Linked DNA regions of Homo sapiens: region 1 is linked to region 2. The links are contacts of gene promoters, found by promoter capture Hi-C in blood cells and fetal thymus (Javierre and others, 2016). All regions are on one chromosome and are shown on one strand. Each heading gives the region's core, a stretch centred on a gene start or on the middle of the fragment in contact. The rest is flanking DNA. Distances are from core to core; before and after follow the strand shown. Region 1 overlaps MYH15 (myosin heavy chain 15). Region 2 holds the start of IFT57 (intraflagellar transport 57).

Evidence for each region. The method cuts DNA at HindIII sites, captures the fragments that hold promoters and counts their contacts. A CHiCAGO score of 5 or more calls a contact.
Region 1: a fragment that was not itself captured here is called in contact with the fragment with the promoter of IFT57 in region 2 in 2 of 17 cell types (total B cells and naive B cells); the score reaches 6.7 in total B cells.

Annotation. Positions count from the first base shown.
Region 1 is chr3:108,479,323-108,483,112 of GRCh38, reverse strand. The region is part of intron 11 of MYH15 (myosin heavy chain 15); the gene reads left to right. Among named protein-coding and RNA genes, the nearest start is that of MYH15, 29 kb to the left of the region's middle. The HindIII fragment of the contact is 443 bases long and covers 1,711-2,153 here.
Region 2 is chr3:108,219,775-108,223,866 of GRCh38, reverse strand. IFT57 (intraflagellar transport 57) reads left to right here and starts at 1,443. Exons shown (of 11, transcript NM_018010.4): 1 at 1,443-1,756. The coding sequence starts at 1,545. It overlaps LOC124909405 (a long non-coding RNA gene), which reads right to left and starts at 1,262. Exons shown (of 2, transcript XR_007095999.1): 1 at 1,181-1,262; 2 at 1-921. RefSeq lists a silencer at 1,236-1,529 and an enhancer at 1,465-1,724. The HindIII fragment of the contact is 9,168 bases long and covers 893-4,092 here.

The DNA of each region.
Region 1 (3,790 bases), core at 683-3,182, 260 kb before region 2:
TTCTTGTGCCTCAGCCTCCCGAGTAGCTGGGAAGCTGGGATTACAGGTGCACCACTACACTGGGCTAATTTTTATATTTTTAGTAGAGATGGGGTTTTGCCGTGTTGGCCAGGCTGGTCTCAACTCCTGACCTTAAGTGATCTACCCACCTCGGCCTCCCAAAGTGCTGGGATTACAGGCCTGAAACACCATGCCTGGCCTGTTGTGCAACAAATAATTTTGGAGGCCAGTCTGTGCTAGGGACTATTCTTGATGCTAGGGATACATCCGTGAACAAGATATTGTCCCTGTCTTGTCTAGTGTGGGAGTTAGACAATAAATACATAAATACGTAACAAGTTCCATACAAAAAGGAAGTAAAGCAGAGTTAAAAAAATAAGGAATAATAGGATACAGAGGTTGTTGTAGATAGGGTGGTCAGGAAGTCAGTCCCTCAGAGAAGAGGACACAGCACAGATGTGAATGAAGTGAGACAATGTGTTATGAAGATCTTGTAAACATCTTATATATTAACATATTCACATATGCTTTTATGGCATCTTATTTTATTTTTGCCATCCTGTTTGCTTTTTCCATGCTTTAAAACAAAGGCTTTTCTTAAAGAATGGTTTTTATTACAAAAACAAGGCATACTTACTGATAAATCAAAAAACACAGATGAGCAAATGAAATGTGTAATCTCCTCCACTCTCCCTTTTGGCTTCTTCTCAGGTTCTTTGCTGGAGCTTCCTTATCTTCCCTACTGCTAATTGCTCTAGGGCTGCTCAGGGCTCCAGCCTTGAATCTTTCCTCTTCCCTTTCTATGCTCATTTCTTTGGTGCCCATCTCAAACTCAACATGAATAGAACTGAACTCTTCATCCCACCCTGCCTTTACTACCAACTCTTCATTTCTCGGTCTTCTTCAAAAATGCCACCTAGGTTCTCCCAATTGCCCTGACTCAAATCTCAGAATCATCCTGGACTCCTCTCTTTTTCATTGTCTCTACCTTTGAAATACATCCAAAAGCTCACAACTTATCACCATGGCCATGCCCACTGCCACCACCTAGCCCGAGCCACCGTTTCTTACTACAGCCTCCTTCCTGGTCTCCCTGCTTGCATCCTTGCCTACGATGGATAGGTGGATAGCTCTGCACCCAGAAGCTACTGTCAGTCCTTTCACAGTGTCAGTCAGCCCTTGTTCCACCATGTCCTGCTTCTGCTCTAAACTCAACAATGGCTCCAAATAAAACCCCACGTTCCTGTCACAGCTTCCTTAACCTCTATGATATTAGGTTGGTGCAAATGTAATTTTGGTTTTTGTCATTACTTTTAACAGCAAAAACCGCAATTATGTTTGCACCAACCAATACTTCTCTGTCTCTCTCTAATCCCTACCGTTAGTAGCGAAATCTATCATTTTCTCGTCTCTCATTTCCCTCCACTCACATGTCCTGGCCTCTTGGATGTTTTTGGAGCATGTAAGCACTCCTATTGCAGGACTATTTTCACTAACTCTTCTTTCTGCCTGGAACTTTTCTCCTGTCCTCATGTCTTACTCCCTCACTTATTAAAGTAACTTCTTGGATGTTACCTTATTAGAAAAGCCTTCTCTAGCTACCTCCACCACTATCCCCCTAATCTAAATATTTTTCTTCATGTCATTCATACAGCTAGTTTTTATTGAATGTCCTAGCCTCCACCCCTCAATCTCCACCAGATGTAAGCTTTGTAAGAGCAGGGACCTCATTTGGTGTGTTCACTGCTATATTTCCAGGTTTTAAAATGTGCCTGGCACATAGTAATGGCTAATTATTCATTAAGTGAACCCTACCTACTCAGAGACAATCACTGTGAATGCCAAAGGACATATTTTTTACGCATTTTCTAGTTGAATATGCACATATAACTTTTTAAAATAAAAATGTGATCATATTCATGTTGTTTCAGCCTAGTATTTTTTTACCAAATTATATGTGAACATCTTTTTGTCTTTTCTGCAATATCTTTTTAGATGGCTACAAAATATTCCATTGTATGAATGTACCATAATTAACTTAAGCATCTTACTGGATACTGAGTTTTTTTCAGTATGCTTCTACCTTTAGCTCATTTTAAAAATGGAGGTGTTGAATTTTTCTTTAATTCTAAGGGTTCTTAATATATTAAGCTTTGGTAAATTTTTCCCAGTTAATTATTTAGGAAGGTTTTGAAGGAGCTGGACAGATGGAGAAGAAGGAACGGGGAAGGGCACCCAAACCCAAAGGGGCATCTTAGCCTTTGCCTCTTTCTTGAGTTCCAACTCCATATTTCCAACTCTCAGCTGCATATTTTCTAGTATCCTAAACTCTGCATGGCTAAAAGTCCATCATCTTCTCCCCTAAGTGATGTCTTCCTATTGGCATTTCTATTCATATTTATGGTATTGTTCTTCTTTCTACTTCTCAGACTGGAAACCTCCTAGTCATATTTCTCAGTCTCTCTTTCTCCCTTTCTCATTACAAATTTGGAGCTTCAGCATCTCACACTTCAGCATTCTGCAATGGGTTCACTCTGTACTTTAAAACTTCCTACTCTGGTCTGTCTTGCACATTTCCAAAATTAAGCATCCTAAAGCATGACTCTAATTATGTCATTTCTCTGCTTACAGCTCCTTTAACATTTCCCCATTCTTTAATTAATATGTTATAGCGGCATTAGATGTCTTCTGCGACCAGAAGTCACCCGCTTTTCTCAGTTTCTCACTCACTCCCTGGTATCGTAGTCCAGTCCCTCTGGGTTACAACCTCTTCTTTGACCATACCTTGTACTCTTCAACGCCTGTGGCTTCAAGTCGTGCTGTTCATTGTTAAGGAAACTCTTCTTCTCCCATATTTGCCTACAAAAACTCTTGTCATCCTTCAAGGCTCAGATTGAATGTTGTTTCTTTTTTAATCCTTCCCCAGTCATGCAGTCCAGAAGGGCTCTTTCCCTACTTCACAGTTTTGTGATACTCGATTTGTGTGTCTCTTATGCAGTTGTTTTACTGACATACTATTTTTTCCCATGTCTTATTTACTCTCATAGATTATAATTTCTTGATGCCAGGGATTTTTGCCTTGTTTATTTATCTTCTTATTACATTATCTAGCATCAGGGCTTACACATAGCAAATGCTCAGTTAACTTTGTTTAATAAATTAATGAAATATGAACAGCTCAAAAATTGTATTATAACCTTCCATAAAAGAGATTAATATCTTTATCATAACCCCTGTAGACTGACAAAACTGGATTTTGCTTCATTCTTTCATATCTGGTTATTTGCAGATGGGACTGAACTGGGACAGAATTGGAAATTTGGAAAAGATTCCTTTTTGAGTTTCTCTACCTTTTTACCTGTTTTCAGGTGAAGTCATACTTTGTTCTTTCCATCTTCCTGATTTCAAAATAAACTTACGAAACCTGGTTATTATTCTCTAGACAGTAGTTTGCAAACTTGGCTGCTCAACAGAATCGCTGGGGAACTTTTAAAATCCTGAAGCTCAGGCCTTACCCAAGCCAGACAAGCCAGATTTCTGTGGGTGAATTTCAGGCATCAGTATTTGTTTTTACAACTTGCCAGGGACCCCAGTGTGCAGTCAAAGTTGAGGACTACCACAATAACAACTTTGTTCTCAAACTTGTATGTGTATCAGAATCACCTGGGTAACACGATAAAACTAGAGCGGCCCAGCCCCTAACCTGCTTCAGGGAGCCTGTTGTTTAATCTTTGATTAGCTCTCCAGGCTATTCCAATACACACTGATGCTTGAGAACCACCTCTCTAGC
Region 2 (4,092 bases), core at 194-2,693:
AAAGATCAATTTGGTAGTGGGGTAACATCAAATCCAATTTTCTCACTCAACTTTATTAAAAGCAGCTGGCTCATGACTTGTGGTAGGCAAGCAATGTTATTTATTTAAAAAGCAATTCTCAGTGGGCTGCCCTTCAGGTTATTCTCTACATAAGTCTGTAATTTTATGTACTTCCTTTCTTTAATGAAAAAATGGTATTTGCCCTTCTGACTTTTCACTTTGATAACCTTATTAGTATCAGAAACAAGTTAGCTGTAGACGGATTACAATGAAAAGTGTTCTCATTTTTTCTAATAAAAACAGGATATTGTAGATACATTTCAAATTTCAGTTGTCCAAAAATGTAGCCCTTCTATATTTTGTAGTGGCAGATACAAGAGATCAGAGAGCCCTTAAAAGTCACGTTATAAACATGAACATATGTTCAATCTCTTGTACTAAGTTTTCTTCCCAAAAACTGCCAGGCATCCACCACTTACCTCATTTTTTGCAACTGTTAAGAAAATTGCCTAATACAGAAGCCTTTTGAAAACTGTAAAGCTGGGCCATTTCTGTGGTCAGTTATGTACCTTTTCTTAAATTTTCTAGGTCAATAACTGCAGAATACAGTAGTAACACCCTATCTTTAGCCACCCTTAGAGCTTTAGGGCAGGGAAATTCCTTTTAAGACCATCTCTATTCTGTTGGATTTAACGAAGTACCCAAACACTTTATACTACATGTAATGGGTTTGAAACAGATTAAGCAGCAGGATGGAAGCTTAGTATTCTTGTTTTTGAAGTAAAACAAATCCTTCCAAATGCCTCCTTTTGTTCATTGTCTTCCTCATCCTTCCAACCACTTTCCTAGCACTGGAGTAACAGCCAGGCAACGTAATACAGTACTTCAAGCTTTACAATATACTGTTAAGTGCAGCATTGCCTAGTGAGAGAAAGATAAAATTAAAGAAAGAACGAGAGAAACCTCTCGTTGGAAAGTTCCTGCAGTAAAAGTGAAACCTATGGTATTGACTATCTTTACAACTATGAAAAACTTTTCAATTCTGAGAAAATAAAGGTATCAGTGAGCCAGTGCAGCCTTCAGTGCTACACGTCTTCACCTCCCTTTAATCTTTTTAACAGCTACTAGCTGACCCAGATGCCCGCTTAATTGCTTTTAGCAACCACCAGGTCCAACACACCTCAAGCCAGCTCAAGACTCACTAGGCAAGCGGAGCAGAAACGTAAGCCGGCTCCCTTCAGACTTTCAGCGAGGGAGAAGACGCAGCCGGCAGTGGGGCGCGAACGCCACGCCTCCATGAGGGGCGGGGCTGCTTCCCGACCACCATTTCCACAGAGGCAGGGCAAGAAGAGGGCCACAGGTGACGTCATTCAGGAAAGCCGCCCTGATTGGAGGGAAGGAGGCGGAGTCTAGTTTCCCTGGTGACGGATTGTCCGGTGGTCGCCTGGTAACCGGTCGTGGCTGTACTGGCGGCGGCAGGGCTGGCGGCTTAGGCCGCAGAGGTCTGTGGGCCTGAGCCCACGCTGGACTCTGTCCGTTCTGCGATGACTGCTGCTCTGGCCGTCGTCACGACGTCGGGTTTGGAAGATGGGGTGCCTAGGTCCCGTGGCGAAGGGACCGGGGAAGTGGTCTTGGAGCGGGGGCCCGGCGCGGCCTACCACATGTTCGTGGTGATGGAGGACTTGGTGGAGAAGCTGAAGCTGCTCCGCTACGAGGAGGAGTTCCTCCGGAAGAGCAACCTGAAGGCCCCGTCCAGGTGGGTGCCGGCGTCCCCGAGCGCCCGGGTGCCTGCTAGCCCCCAGGGAGATGCCCTCCTTGGTCCTGCTGGGAACCAGTTTCGTGAGAGCGGGTTAGCAATTCCTTGCCTCCGTCTTCCTAGCCAGGGAAGGGCACTTCACCCCAAACTCCCGGGAGGTCCGTGGAGCTCACGCAGCCCTGACTTGGTATTTTTGTAGAGAGAATAAATAAGTTTTGGAACGGCAGAAAGGATCGGAAGACAGCTTGCCTGTTTTTTTCCAACACACACGCATTACCAGAAAACACAAACTATATTTTCTGATTGTAAAGATGAAACAAATACTCATTGAAGAAAACTCAGAAAAACACAAGTAAATGTCTAGAAAAATTATAAGACCGTCCAAAATTCGCCTCCAGAGAGGAATGCCATTATCACTTAAGGCTTTTTTTCTAGTTTGGGGTTTTTTGTTGTTGTTTAAGACCCTGTTCATACAACTGGGGACCGTGGGTACTTAGGATCCTGTTAAGGAGCACTTTAAATGCGGTTAGTAAACTTGTTAACTACTTGCTATGGTTTAAAAGACTTCTGCCTTTGTAATAACCATACTCTCAGAAACTGAAAAGTGGAAAAGACGAATGACAACTATTGAATTGTCCCCCTATCATAGAACCTAAAGTTTTACCCTTGTTCCGGTGGGGGAAAAGTCCAACATATCCTGAAAGCAATGCCATTACTTGCTGAGGGTAGTGGTCAGCTAGGACCTTCTCCTCAAATCACTGTAGCTTAGCAGTAGCCAGATAAATCAGTTTTATAGCTTTTCTTTCACTTTAATACTTACATTTGTATATTTTATTCCATAAAAGGCAATCAGTATTAAGAATCTATAGTACTTAATGTCTACAGCCAGGCTCAAATAATTTCCCTTGATAGTTTTAATCTCATTCCACTGCTGTCTTCCAATAACTTGAATTGAAAGATATGTAGGCTTGATATAAACTGTTCATATTAAATTAGTCCATGGTCGGAGAAAAGATAAAGGAAAAAGTAGTGTTGCTTGATCCATGTTAGAAAAGGTAGTCCTGGGATTATTACTTAAAGTGAATTGATCAGGATAATATAGACAACCAACATTTCCTATGTTAATAAAAATGCATTTTTTTCCAAGTATATTTTTAAAATGAAAACAAAATGTCCTTAAGGTTCTGTTGATGTCATCTCTTGCACTGTGTCCTCAGGGGTTCAGCAGGATACTTTGAATCATGGATTTGTGTGGGGATATCCTAGTCCAATGGTTCTCAAAATGTGATCACCAGACCAACAGCATCAGCATCACCTGGGAACTTACTAGAAATGAAATTCCTCAGGCCCTTTCCCAGGTCTACCTTTTCAGTAATTATAGGGATGGGGCCTAGCATCTGTTTCAGTAAGCCTTCCAGATGATTCTGATGGACACTAATGTTTGGGAACCACTGTCCTAGGTTTACAGTATCTATTGGTGTTCATTCCTCTGCCCTAGAAGAGTTATCTGCCGATAAGGAAAAGATGACTTTTTGGTGGGTGGGTGCTTTGAAAGGATAGTGAGCATATACCTGGAAGGACTTCATGGCCTTTTTTCTTCCCAGCTTTCTGTTATCTTCCAGAACATTTACATTTATCCTGCAGGAAAAAGTTTGGGAAACATGAAGGAGTACACGACAGATTTTTATGACAATGGTTATAATAGTTGTAAATACATTGTAAACATAATAATGATAGCTACACATGAACAAGACAAATAAGATCTTTGATTAAACTGACTTGAATGTTGTTGCTAGTGAGTTTTATTCCTATAATGTTTAGGTATAAATCATACTGATCCTCGTAGAACTGTGTTTAGTAGACTAGGGGATTAAGCAAGAGCCCACAGATGTTTGACTGGTGATGTGACATTCACAGGTTCTTAATCCTGACTACACCTTATAAACATGTAGAAATCTTTTGAAATATACCCCATACTGGGCCTACTTTCACTGAAGTTCTGATTTAATTCATTCATGAGGGAAGAAGCAATGTTTGGTCAAGTACCAGTATTTTTATTAGCTCCTCAGGTGATTGAATATGCAGCCAACATAGAAACAAATGTTCACCATAGGTGATAGGTTAGAAACAGTAAAAATGCATAATGAGTAATCGTTGAGGTCTTTTTTAAACTCTGAGGTTCTTCCAGATTACCATTTTCATTCATAAGGTACTTACATATTATTACTGACACTTAAATCATTTTGGCAAAAATTCTACATGCTCTGTGCTCTAACATGCACTACATTTCCTGGGTGTAAGGTCTTTGATCTAATATTTTGGGTACAGTAGTAATT